Regions from separate parts of the Homo sapiens genome. Here regions 2, 3 and 4 are each linked to region 1. The links are contacts of gene promoters, found by promoter capture Hi-C in blood cells and fetal thymus (Javierre and others, 2016). All regions are on one chromosome and are shown on one strand. The core of a region is centred on a gene start or on the middle of the fragment in contact, and the rest is flanking DNA. Distances in the headings are between cores, read along the strand shown.

What was found. The method cuts DNA at HindIII sites, captures the fragments that hold promoters and counts their contacts. A CHiCAGO score of 5 or more calls a contact.
Region 2: a fragment that was not itself captured here is called in contact with the fragment with the promoter of TASL in region 1 in 1 of 17 cell types (naive B cells); the score reaches 5.5 in naive B cells.
Region 3: a fragment that was not itself captured here is called in contact with the fragment with the promoter of TASL in region 1 in 1 of 17 cell types (total B cells); the score reaches 5.2 in total B cells.
Region 4: a contact is called between a fragment that was not itself captured here and the fragment with the promoter of TASL in region 1, in 2 of 17 cell types (total B cells and naive B cells). The highest score is 13.3, in total B cells.

What each region holds. Positions count from the first base shown.
Region 1 is chrX:30,576,190-30,579,596 of GRCh38, reverse strand. It overlaps TASL (TLR adaptor interacting with endolysosomal SLC15A4), which reads left to right and starts at 1,831. Exons shown (of 3, transcript NM_025159.3): 1 at 1,831-1,959; 2 at 2,731-2,845. RefSeq lists an enhancer at 1,600-1,809. The HindIII fragment of the contact is 8,514 bases long and covers 1-2,466 here.
Region 2 is chrX:31,267,883-31,271,289 of GRCh38, reverse strand. The region is part of intron 62 of DMD (dystrophin); the gene reads left to right. Among named protein-coding and RNA genes, the nearest start is that of FTHL17, 200 kb to the right of the region's middle. The HindIII fragment of the contact is 3,167 bases long and covers 322-3,407 here.
Region 3 is chrX:31,249,804-31,253,210 of GRCh38, reverse strand. All of the region lies in intron 63 of DMD (dystrophin), which reads left to right. Among named protein-coding and RNA genes, the nearest start is that of FTHL17, 180 kb to the right of the region's middle. The HindIII fragment of the contact is 556 bases long and covers 1,227-1,782 here.
Region 4 is chrX:31,228,047-31,231,453 of GRCh38, reverse strand. All of the region lies in intron 63 of DMD (dystrophin), which reads left to right. Among named protein-coding and RNA genes, the nearest start is that of FTHL17, 160 kb to the right of the region's middle. RefSeq lists a silencer at 2,221-2,270. The HindIII fragment of the contact is 2,508 bases long and covers 357-2,864 here.

The DNA.
Region 1 (3,407 bases), core at 582-3,081:
CACATAGAGAGTAGAAGCATGGTTACCAGAGGCTGGGAAGGGTAGTGGAGGGCTGGTGGGGCAGGTAGGGATGGTTAATGGGTGCAAAAACTAGTTAGAAAGAATGAATAAGACAAAGTATTTAATAGCACAACAGGGATACTGTAGTGAATAATAACTTAATTTTACATTTTAGTATAACTAAAATAGTATAATTAGATTTTTTGTAACACAAAAGATAAATGTTTGAGGGGATGGATACCCCATTTTTCATGATGTAATTATTATGCATCATATGCATGTATCGAAACATCTTATGTACCCCATAAATATATACACCTACTGTATACCTACAAAAATTAAAATACAAAATTTTAAAAAGAAATATTCTATTACATAAGCATGTATATACATATATTCCTTAAAAATACAAACTGGAAAATGAGTTCTTGCTAAACAATATATGTTAGAGATCTTTTTTTTTCTTTTTTTTTTTTTTTGAGATGGAGTCTCGCTCTGTCACCCTGGCTGGAGTGCAGTGGCACAATCTCAGCTCACTGTGACCTCCACCTCTCGGGTTCAAGGGATTCTCATGCCTCAGCCTCCGAGTAGCTGGGATTACAGGTGCCCACCACCACGCGTGGCTAAGTTTTGTATTTTTAGTAGAGACAAGGTTTCACCATGTTGGCCAGGCTGGTCTCAAACTTCTGACCTCAAGTGATCCACCTGCCTCGGCCTCCCAAAGTGCTAGGATTACAGGCGTGAGCCACCGCACACAACCTACATAGGATTTTAAGTATGCATACGTTCTCATTTACTTGGCCAATATCTTATTTATGGATATAATTTTTTCTAGTCATTTATTTTCTCAAGCAATGCTGCAACAAATATCTTTTCACATAAGTCTTTGTGTACAAGTGTAAACATATAGCTTGGACAAATTTATAAAAAATACAATTGTTGGGTCAAAGGGTATGAATATTTGTATTTGAGAGATACTGGGAAATTGCCCTCTAAATATGTTTACAATCTCATCAGTAGTGTTTGAGAGTGCTTGTTTCTTCACAACTTTGCCCACACCATGTATTATTGTTTTGACCTTCGGTATTTGGAGAGGGAAAACTTTTTTCTTTTTTTTTTCTTTTGAGACGGAGTCTCGCCCTGTCGCCCAGGCTGGAGTGCAGTGGCGCGATCTCGGCTCACTGCAAGCTCCACTTCCCGGGTTCACGCCATTCTCCTGCCTCAGCCTCCCGAGTAGCTGGGACCACAGGCGCCCGCCACCGCGCCCGGCTAATTTTTTGTATTTTTAGGAGAGACGAGGTTTCGCCGTGTTTGCCAGGATGGTCTCGATTTCCTGACCTCCTGATCCACCTGCCTCGGCCTCCCAAAGTGCTGGGATTACAGGCGTGAGCCACTGCGCCCGGCCGAGAAAATTTTTTTCATTTACATTTTTAAAAATTATAAGTACCATTGAGAAATAATACTTCTTAAAAATTATAGATTAGTAACGAAACAGAATTTCCTAAAGTCATATGTGACTTTGGCTTTCTTTTGGGTGAAGGATCCCAGATAATGTACTTTTCTAGAAAGGAAATTTAATTCTGTTGCTAGGGTTCTTACAAAATGTGTAACCATAAACTATTTTAATAAGAGACAGTTTCGTAGATAGGTTTCATTTTTCGAAAAAGGGGAAGAAACACCATTCTGTGGCTTGATGTGGCTTTGTCAGTTACTGCCTCCCCACCTCCCGGGACTTCCCACTGCCTCTTTAGCACAAATCGGACTTGAACAAAAACAACTCTTTTTCCATGGGACCAATTATAAAAAGAATGGCTTTGCACTGAGCAGCTCAGTCTACTGGTCTCATCAGTGAAAGGCTTGTGAAAATTTCTGGAAAGAGCATTGGCTGGCTTGTTCATCTCTCTGTTTGGTCAGTTGCTGTGTTTCTGCCGGATCAGATGAGCAGATTGGTTAGTGAAGGTAAGAAAAAGAAAGCAAAGGACCCTAGAACTCCGCTATTATTTTTTGTCATCTGTCTTCTCACGCTTTCTTAGCCCTTTATCACGAGAGCGCTGATCCATTCTTATGACATCTAAAATGCTTTTCTAGCTTACCATATCAGAGACAAGTGGGAGTTTAAACAAGCATTCAGTGGAGTTGAAAAATAAAGAGAAATTAAGCCCAATACTTCCTTTCCTTACCTCCTCGTGTCCACATTCTAAGCATTTCTAAAACACTTATATTTTTACCTACAATTTTTGACTGATCTGAGCAAATATTTATTGTGTTATTTTTGCAGTCCTCTTTCACTAATTGCCACACTGGTTTAGCTTCTGCATTTTTAAAAGAAGGCCTAAAAACCTAAGCAGGGTTTTGCAGGGACAACACAGCTCTTGAATTCAGTTACGGTGATGCAGTTTTAGAGACGAAAACAATCACAGTCCTTTCCAATTGGATTTGACTCTCAATTATTCAGTTCAGCAAGCTTGTGATAGTGTTTTTCTGTGTGGCAGGATGTATTCAAAATGAATGCGATCTATAGTGAGGATGCTTTTCGACTTTCATCTGGGTGATTTGGGGAAAGCTTCCCTTTTGGTATTAAAGATAGCGCATGTACGAGTGGAGTTTTGTTTGAATTATCTTTAGACTCGCTCAAACATTCTTTGTCTTGCGCATATGAATCTGTGCTTAAATATAGACCTGGTTTGGACAGAATATTTATATTGATATTTTATAACATTTCTTGCATAGGTCAGTGTGAGAAGAAGATTGTTTCTGAGCTTGAGAAGCTTCTGGAGGATTGAAGAGTATTTGAAGTCTGTGTCAAACATCCATATCATAAGTGGAATTTTGGAGATATTCAAAGGTAGTACACTAATTCTATTATCTCAGAGCAAAATGATGTTTGAAGTATTTATATCAAGTCACTGAGACATTTCTCATCTCATATGTAGTGATTATTTTAGATATATAAGATATTGTCCCTCTAGGCTCTTAATAAACATTATACAATGTAAATATGCCTTCATTAACTAAATATGGTTTTTTCCCCCTCCCAATTTTTATTTAGAAATGTTTCAAATCTATATAAAAATTGAAAGAATAGTACAACGAACACCCATATTTTCATCATGTGTATTAATCAGTGGTATCTTTTTGCCACATTTACTTTCTCTCTCGCTTTGTCTTTCTCTGTCTCTGCCTGTCCTTTTCTCTCTCTCTATATGTGTATATATATATTCACACACACGCATGCACATATGCACAGTTTTTTCCCTGAATGGTTTGAAAGTATGTTGCTGACTTTAGGACACATGTCACCCCTAAATTCTTGAGCATGTATCTCCTAAAAATAAAGGCAGTCTTCTATAACACATTACAACACCACGGAAACATAACATCAACACAATACTATTATCTAAGATGTG
Region 2 (3,407 bases), core at 656-3,155, 690 kb before region 1:
GATGTCCAACTGTCTCTTGGATACCTGCACTTTTACATCACCACCTCCAATTCATTATGTTCAAGACTGGATTCATCATCTCTTTCCTAACCCTCTTCTGCCCCCTCCTCCTGAAATTCCTAGCTCGGAGAATGCTACTCATCCAATCTTTGTTGTCACTCAAGGACAATGGTCCTTAACCTTCACTGCATATTAGAATCACTTGGAGAGTCTTAGAAATCCTAATGTCCAAGACCAATTAAATTAGAATCTCAGGGTGGTGAGACCCAAACATCTAAATTTATTAACAATCCCTGAGTGATTCCAAAGGGCGGCCAAGCTTGAGGACTATTGCTTTACTTCTTCCCTCTCTTCCATTCATACATCCAGTCAGTCAAGACTCCTGTAGTTGGAACCTTATTGTATCATTTCTCCACCTCCTCTGCCACTGCTGTAATTCAGATCCTCCTCATACTGCAATCTCCTTGTACCTGATGTCTGAATTTCAGACTCTTGTCTTCTGATCAAGCCCCCATACCATTGCCTGAGTGATTTTTCTAAAAGACAAACCGGACAGAGCCACACTCATGCTTTAATTCTTTCTTCCTTAAAAAGCTCCCTCATACCTTTCAGGATACAAGTCAAACTCCAGATTGTCACACTAAGCCCTTTCCAGTTTGCCCATTTCTCTAACCCTTATCTTGACATTCTCTCCAAAAGATCAAGCAGACCGTTGAAGCTCTTGTAAAGAACAAGCTGGTTGCATCCTTTTTACCCTCACATCTGCTGTTGTCACCATCATAATTGTTGATATGCCTTTACCCTCAAAAGGCCAGAAGCTCTTTGTGGGCCTACAGAGGAGGCTTCTCTGAATATTTATCCAATGACTGAGTCTCATCTGCTTTTTAGCCCCAGAGTGGGGGGATCTGACTTTCTCCTCTATCAGTAGTCCCCACTCAGCATCAAGTCTATTGCCCCAGAGGGTGGCTTTGGCTGGATGGGTCTCAGTTTGGTCAGGGTCCTGGGAGAAACAGATGGTACATTCAAACGGAACACTTGAAGAGAGTATAATGAAAAGGCTATTTACAAGGCTCTAGGCAGGCTAGGAGAAAAAAAAAAAAACAAGGAATGGTAAACTTTTGCCCAAAGGGATAAAGGGAGGAATGGTTTGCGTAACTGGTGGAATGCTATTGCTGTAGGAAAGGACTGGCCAACAAGACTTGTGGCTGCAGGTCAAGGAACTCAGCAGCTGCCAGGCCAGAGATCAGTAGGAGGGAACCTGAAGAATAAATACCCAAACATCACCTTCCTCCTGTCCTTTCCTCTCCTTCTGTAGGCCTTTCATCACTGCCTCCCAATTGGCTGAAAGCAAAAGGAAGCCAAACGGCAGGAAAGCCTGATTGATGTCCCCACAGAGGTCCAACCTCCTGGGCCACAGAGCAGAATGGAGAAGGACAAAGAATAGAGATGGATGGGAGAATGGGGAAGCATCCTGCACAGTCCCTTAGGTCAGAGATGCCCTTATTCTCTAAAGATACCCTCAAAGTTTAAGTGGTTCAAAGACCAGAGTTTTGGCTACGGGAAAATGTACTGGGTCGCCTTCTTTGACCTCATCCCATTTCATTTCTTCTTTATCTCTATTTCTAGCAAATTTACTCTTCTCTGCTCTGAGCCATCAGTGAGATTGTCTATGAGTATACTAGAAAAAACACAGACCTTTCTCACAGGAAAAGAAGCCATGTCTCTTCATGGCAGCATAGCAGAATAGCTAAGCGCATGAGTCTTCGAGCTGGATTCCCCAATTCCAATCCTTGCACCATTCTAGACAGTGGTACTGGGAACAAGTAGGTCATGGCTGATTCTGAAGTCAAAATTTTAGCTGAAGTTTGTTCTGGTAGCAGAGCTTCAGGCTCTTTTCATGTCCGTGGTTCATATCAAAACAGTAATAATAATAATAATAATATAATCAGAAGGAGGAGAAGAAGAAACATCTACTATAAACAAACAATATATTATCATACATGGCATCACTACATAATTTACATATGACACGAAGGTATATCAATTATGTTCTTTTCCAAATGCTTTCCTCTAATAAGCAAAATTCATAATCTGACTGCAATTGAACAACAAAACAGTCTCTGTGATGCCCGCGTCATTTCTTAATACTTTCAGTATTTAATTATAATATGACGTCAAGATTTGGGAACAAGTCTTCAAGTGCCTATAACTCCAGTCTAAAAAAGAACTTAAAGATGTATTTTTGAGGATTGCCATCTGTCAATTTTTTTAAAAAGTCTGAATAGTGATTTCTTATTCCATTCTTTTTTCTTGTCAACAGATTATTCTTAGTAGTTTTCTAATTGGACACTGAGAAAAGAGACTTAAGCATTTATAGAGAAGCGTGTCAGAACTCCTGAATTTTGAGCAGGTAATTTAAAAGTGTAAAACAAACAAACAAAAAACAGGAAAGGAAGAGAGTGACAAATGTCTTACTATCCAGGTGTTACAAATCCTTAGTTTATCGATTTGTAATATTTACAAATGTCCATGCTCTGAGGCTTCTGTCTTTTCGTTGAAATAAACATAAACAGTAGTTAAGTGATTTGCCACACTGACACAGAGATTGGTGTCTCTGATTTACTGCAAAGGGCACTACTTCCTCATTACAGGACACTAATCCCTCTTCCCCAAGGATCGGAGCAGACCTAGAATATACTATTAGACCAAGGGACAACTTCAGCCAAAGCAAATCTTAGTGTGCCCCCCTCAGACCGTAATAGCAGCTGCCTCCACAACTCACTAGCTTAAAATTGCTAAAGGGCAACACTAAGTAATCTCAGTGTATGAGCCAGAATGCCAGAAGAAGTGCCATATTTGCTTAAAAATAGCAATACCGATCATACTTACATGCACATATCTTTAGTGATAACATTTACCTTTATATTTGGTTTGTTAAAGGTAATAAAGAATCCTGGCATTCCCTTTTGCTTTTGTCCAGATACTTTATTTTTGCCTCTTTTGCCATGCTATAGCATTAGATAAAGCAAAACGGGTGTGCTTCCACCTAAAACATTCTAGGGGGAAAAATGTTGAGCAGAAAAGGATTATTTCAAAAGAAGCCGGATATGGTGGCATGCACCTGTCATCGCAGGCACTTGGAGGCTGAAGTGGGAGGATTGCTTGAGCCCAGGAGTTGGGAGACCAGCCTGGGCAACACAGTGAGACCCCCATCCCTTAAGAAATAAATTTTAAAAAGGGGACCACATTTAAACTGTAGACCGAAGTGGAATGAATCAATCGGAAAGGAGAGTGGAAAGCAAATGTTTGAAAGAAAATAAAAAGAAAAGCAAGCCAACAAAATAAATGGACAAAGAAGGGCAGTGAAAATATCACTAACAGTTTATCGTAAGATGCTCTTTGGATGC
Region 3 (3,407 bases), core at 255-2,754, 670 kb before region 1:
GCAAGTCCCTTGCTTTCTATTGGTCTTCATTTTCTTATATGTCATGTTGGCCAGTGATCTTTCATCATTAAATGACTGGTTTTGTTTTAACCCCTGGCTAGAGTAAAGCTTGGTTGTATGAATGTTGTCAGCCCTAAACCCCCAGTTCCTCTTTGTCACCACCAACCTAAAGGATATGAATAATAGGATAATCATATTTATTAATTTAATTTTTTTTTTTTGAGACGGAGTCTCACTCTGTCGCCAGGCTGGAGTGCAGTTGCACGATCTCATCTCACTGCAACCTCCACCGCCCGCGTTCAAGCGATTCTCCTGCCTCAGCAGCCTCCCGCCACCATGCTCAGCTAATTTTTGTATTTTTAGTAGAGACGGGGTTTCACCATGTTGGCCAGGATGGTCTCGATCTCTTGACCTCATGATCCACCCGCCTCGGCCTCCCAGAGTGCTGAGATTACAGGCGTGAGCCACCGCTCCTAGCCTATAATCATATTTGTAATAATTGTACTTTATTTGTGTAGCACTTTACAATGGCGAAGAGTTTTCAGAAATAACCATATTTAATCCTCACACAGCTATAGAGTAGGTGGCATATGACCTGGATTTTCTATCAATTTCAGTTTCAGATTTTTTGTCCTGTCATCCCTTTGAGTGTCCTTCCAGTTTTTGATTTGGGAAATAATGCTACCATACCGGTGGATGGGGCAACTTTTCCCTTCTTTCCATTTGGACTTGAGCAGACTGAGACTCAAGACTTGATTTGATTTATACTCACTATGGTAGAAGATAAGGAACCAAGTCCAGAACACACATTTTACAAACTCCGAGTTCTCTGTTCTCAAAGGAACATCCATTACTCTTAGCATGATTTATAAAACTGCTTTATCGGCATAATTAAACTGGAATCCATATGACATTCTTTATTCCCTAGCTGACAAAATTAGCACAGGAGATTTACTCAAATTTGTTATTAAGGCTGTTATAAATGTTCTTCCTTTACTATTCAGCTTATAAAAGAAAAAAGAAAAATAATCTGCTCTTTTAACTTTGATTAGGATCCATTGACTTTCCCCATTTGTAAAATAGAAATGTAACTTCCAAATCAAAATTTATGGCATTTTAATGGACTGTTCTAAATATTATAATATTTTTTCTTGTTCAAATAACTTGATTTAAAGCTTCTAATTGAAGAACATAATAGATATTTCTGAATTGCATCTCTCCAAGCTTATTTCAGAAGGAAACTCAAAAAGAATTGTTCCTTAGACTTTGACTGGTTTACAGTTTTAAAAGAGCTGCCAAATTGTAGTTTACTGATCTAAATAAGAGGAACATTAAGGTTACACCTGCAGCTAGAAGAAAAGTGCTGGATATGTACAATTTTATGTAGCTGGATCTGCAGAAGATGATTTTTGCACACAGAGTAAAGGCATCTAAAAACGTGTCTGCTCTTATTCAGACATTTCCAATATTTCTTTTTTAAGCCCACAAGTCTGATTACCTCTGTATGTCTCTTGGGAGCTGCAATTTTGCTGGAAAGAGATTCAGAACAGTCAGAGCACTCACATAAAATAGATAGTTTTTAAAGTCTGTACCCTCTACGGTAGTAATAAAATGACCTAAAAATATTCTGAAAGTCTCTCTTATGACATAGTGGATGAATCATTAGCTTATTTATGAATTGGTGATATTCTGTGGGAATGTTTCAAAATTTGCTATTCCACAAAGCGTTCATCGCTTGCATAACTCCAGGAAAGTCATTACACCCCCTCATAAATAGAAGCTTATATAACGGAGACAAATGTTGCTTATATTGATATATTTACATACAGATTTCTTTACCAAGCATTAATTTTGGTAAGAAAGTGATTGTTTTTATATTTTACTTTCTTGGTCTGTAAAGAGGCTATCACTTTAAGGCCAGGCATGGTGGCACGCACCTGTAGTCCCAGCGCTTCCAGAGGCTGAGGCAGAAGGATCCCTTGAGCCCAGGAATTTGAGTCCAGCCTGGGCAATATAGCAAGACGTTGTCTTAGAAAAAAAAAAAAAGAAGCTATCACTGAAGAGCAGTGCTTCTCAAACTGGTGAAGGGCCAGGTTTTTGTTGGTGGTGGGTTTTTTTTTTTGTTTTTTTGAGACAGAGTCTTGCTCTGTTGCCAGGCTGGAGTGCAGTGGTGCGATTTTAGCTCACTGCAAACTCTGCCTCCCGGGTTCAAGCGATTTTCCTGCCTCAGCCTCCCGAGTAGCTGGGATTACAGGTGTGCACCACCACACCCAGCTAATTTTTGCATTTTTAGTAGAGACGGGGTTTCACCATGTTGGCTAGGATGGTCTCGATCTCTTGACCTCATGATCTGCCAGCCTCCGCCTCCCAAACTGCTGGGATTACAGGCGTGAACCACTGCACCCAGCCGCGGTGGTGGTTTTTAACATACTACACATCACAGATTTTTAGGTGGTGCTAATGAAACTGACAAGTATGCATTCACACCACATGTAACTCAACAGTCAAGTTCAACAACACTTGACCTCGTCTGTACCCTGCTCCATGAGATGAATTCATTGATCATGAATTTGGATGTCATGGCAATGTCAAATTGCTATAGAAGTTACTTAACACACTGTCCATATCTATGCTTGTGAAAGACCATATTTTGAGTAGCACTGTTCTAGAGCACTTAATTTTTGAAAGTATAAATGTAAACTCAAATCAAGTGACTCAGGTCGGGGGAGGATAATTAACCAAACAGGAACACCTGAAAATGTTATTTATGCGGTTTAATGTTTTGCCAGTTGAGTCAAGTTCAGGCAGAGGAGGGATCTATTTTCTTTCCCACTTGGTAGCTCTCCTTAGCAATTGTTTTAGAAGACAAAGCATAGAAATCATTGTGTTACAGGAAGGAACCAGAGATTAAGCGGCAGAGCCACTGCTGCCTAGTTTAATGTCTCTCGCACCCCCTATAATTAAATATAATGTATATAATGTGATAAGTTTAAAATACAGGTTTGCTTTTATCTAGAATATAAACTGTGATATATGCACTCTTTATGGGGTGCATTCAGTGGGGGAACTAATTGATTATACTGTGACTTTCCTATTGTCACTTTATGAGTTTAGGTTTGGAGGCAATGTTTTGCAGCAACAAAATTGTTCATTGACTTTGAGGCTGGATTTAAATTCTGATTCTGTCACCAGTTCTCTGTGGTCAAAAAGGAAGCCACTAATAATTTTAAACCTCAGTTATGTGATGTATTAAATAGTTATGATGAGACTTATCTTGTGTTGTGAGGATTAGAATGACATATGTAAGGTAACAGAATGTCTGATGTAGTAACTGCTCAAGGAATTATAATTGCTATTAGTGATATGCATTATTATTATTAGTTATTATTATCATATACCAGTGTCTC
Region 4 (3,407 bases), core at 361-2,860, 650 kb before region 1:
ATAGATGAAAGGATTATGGATAGATGAATGTCTTTTAAGCAGTTATAAAACAGTTCTGCCTAAAGAGTCTTTTTTAATCAGTAGTATTACTTCAAATACATATTTAAATACACATATGTTATAAATATATAAAATATGTATTTAAATATGTCATTTGTACTATTTTAAATGTATTTAAAATAATATATGTTATATATTAAAATAATACTAATGATTTTTAAAAGATCAGGCAACACTGCTTTGTAGCTTTTTAGAAGACATTTATCCTTATGGATCCATAATTATTATGGATTGTATGTTTTATATATAATGAAGGTTTTGGGAGTTAGAGCCCTGATCCTTCCGCTCTTGAAGCTTGATTTAAAGGAGCATGGCACAGTGGTGCCTATATGAGTCAGCCCTCCATTATCTGGGGCAGAATTCAGGCCCCAGAAATGGTACTTAAGATACACAGTTCTCCCCCAGAAAACTTTATATCGGCCATTTGTTACAGAAACTGCTTTCTCAACAAACCTTTTACCAGGGCAGCTAACAATGAGCAAAACTAATTTGAATTTCAACTCTGCCATTATTACAGTGTTGCTAAGAAGTAGTGAGATTCTGCTGAGGAAGGCCAAGCAAGAGGAGGGAGCCAGAAATGCCTTAAACAATCCACAGCCAGGATTTTGTGCTATCTTTTATTTCACAGTTGAACTTCTCAGTATTTTTTGGTTCATAACCTTTTTCTCTTTTCCTCAATTCTGAGTCTTCCACATTTGTGCCATACTAGGTACTTTATTGCTTCTCTCCCTTTTTTTTTTTTCTTGAGATGGAGTCTCATTCTGTCGCCCAGGCTGAAGTGCAGTGGTGCGATCTCAGCTCACTACAACCTCCACCTCCTGGGTTCAAGCAATTATCCTGCTTCAGCCTCCTGAGTAGCTAGGATTACAGGTGTGCACCACCATGCCTGGCTAATTTTTTTGTGTTTTTAATAGAGACGGGGTTTCACCATGTTGGCCAGGCTGCTCTCGAACTCCTGACCTCGTGATCCGCCCGCCTCGACCTCCATAAGTGCTGGGATTACAGGTGTGAGCCACCACACCTGGCCCTCTCCTTCATTTCTTAGAAGAGTTTTACAAAGTCATTGGTGATAAATAAGTAATACCATTTCACATCTGGAAACATAACTTGATAGTAATTATAAATTCACAGACTGTACTTTCTGTACTTATCTAAGTATGAATGCATAATTCCTGTTTATCTGTGTGTAGGTTTATTTTTCCCCCATTTAAGTAAAGCTCTATGTTGATGATGAGGTTTTTACGAGTTGAGATTTTAAGAGGCCTCAAATATATCTAAAAAATTATAGACCAAGTATGATGTGTTAGTGTTCCTCTTCTCTCAGCTAATTCTTTAAAGATATGTTCCAGAATTCCTGGTCTGTTCTTGAAGATCTCCCAATAATTCTAGACTTCTGAAGCCTGGATATTTTGGCTTAATTTGCTTTCAAGACAGACTGGATTTAAATTACTCAATTTGTCTGAAGTCTCATTAAGATCCAAGGTTCTTGTCTGTTCTAGTGAGTTTGAGCTGGCAAGAATAATACTTGTCATCTGAAAAGTCCATTAGAATCCTTTGGAGGAGTGAGACTGGAAAATTGGAGACATATTATTATATTTTAAAATATGCCACCTTTCTATAATAGGAGTATGTGGGGAGACTGCCTTGTTTTGGCTTCTTGGGAAAATTTGGAAAATTAGTAAAATAGGCAGGCAGTAGTAGTTCAATGCGTATTGTATGCCAAACACTGAATTTAGAACAATACTCCCCCAAAAGCATATGTGCTCTAAATTTTATTTTTCACTTACCACCTGGGAGATTTGGATTAAATTTCTTCTGGGAAATAGAGTTGGTATGAAGAAACAAAGACCACTATACCAATTTATCTGTTGGAATAATCATTTAGCCGTACAGCTCTTTCCACTCATAAAGTTAATGAGGTCATTATTGTTCTTTCTAGCTAATAGATAGGCATATTGAAACCTTAGGCCTTTCCAAAAAGTCTCCATAAGCCATTGGAAAGATAGACTAAAACACTCCTTGTTTTAAATTCTAGACCTCAGTTCAGTCAGAGATAGTAGGATTTTTGCAGTATTATTAAAAAGACAGAAACCAGCTATAAAATTGAAATGAAGGGACTTAATGTTTTTTTTCTGTAATATCTTTGGAATGCTTCCATGGCTTTAAAATGCTGAGGTGTTTCTCACTATTTTTCAAAAGCATGTAACATGTAGATATGTGACGCAAACTTGACCAGTTGTTCCTCTTTTCTGGTGAATTTTGACACCTGCTACTATTACACAGAGTAAAAGTGAAAGTCATAAAACAGAAATACTTACCAAAGTCAAGAAAAATGCATAGACTAAACAAAGGGGCAAGAGAAGCCTATTACTTGTTTCATGTTTCAAAATAAAAGATGAATGGCCTATCACTTCAGTAGTTGGAAATTCAACTTGAGAAGGTAGGTGGTTTGATGTTTGCCCTTGTTCCTTACGTTTCTAGATTTCTCTATTTATAGGCTAGAACCAGCCCTGGATAAAATAATACAAGTTATGAAGAGAAATGTGCAGTTCAGCATTTTTACCCTTCTGAAGTGCGCTTTCTCCCAGCTGCCATGGAAACATGGCGTAACTGGTTTCTTGGATAGTCTCACTCCTCTTGAGTTCCGGCTGTGAGAGCTAGTGAGCTCATTACAACTTGGATCAGAGTCCTGGAAAGTCAGCTCCCAGGGAAAGTGGAGGACAGTCTCTCATGGGGCACGGGAATGGGGGGCTTTAGCTTTATTAAACTGCATACATACTTTCACTACACAGTCATCCCAAGCTTTAGCCCAGGACAGTGTCACATTGTTCACAGCTGTATTGCATCTTGAGGTTTCTGTGTGCATCCTACACACTTTCCTAAGGCAGAGACTTATCTCTTCCAGCTGTAAGCCGGAGGGAGTGGTGCTGCAGACTCCTAGCAACACATGCGGACTCAAACAACACAGGCAGTTAACTCTCTTGAGTAGTAGACTTGTAGGGCACCAGAACTCCGTTGCAGTTCACTGACAGTTACCAGATATACATTTGTATGGCTTCCGTAGCATTGTGATGGAAGCTAAACGTTTGCCCTGCTACTTTCTTTTTTTTTTTTTTTTATTTTTTTATTTTTTTTTTATTATACTTTAAGTTTTAGGGTACATGTGCACATTGTGCAGGTTAGTTACATATGTATACATGTGCCATGCTGGTGCGCTGCACCCACTAACTCGTCATCTAGCATTAGGTATATCACCCAGTGCTATCCCCCCCACTCCCCCCACCCCACCACAGTCCCCAGAGTGTGATATTCCCCTTCCTGTGTCCATGTGATCTCATTGTTCAATT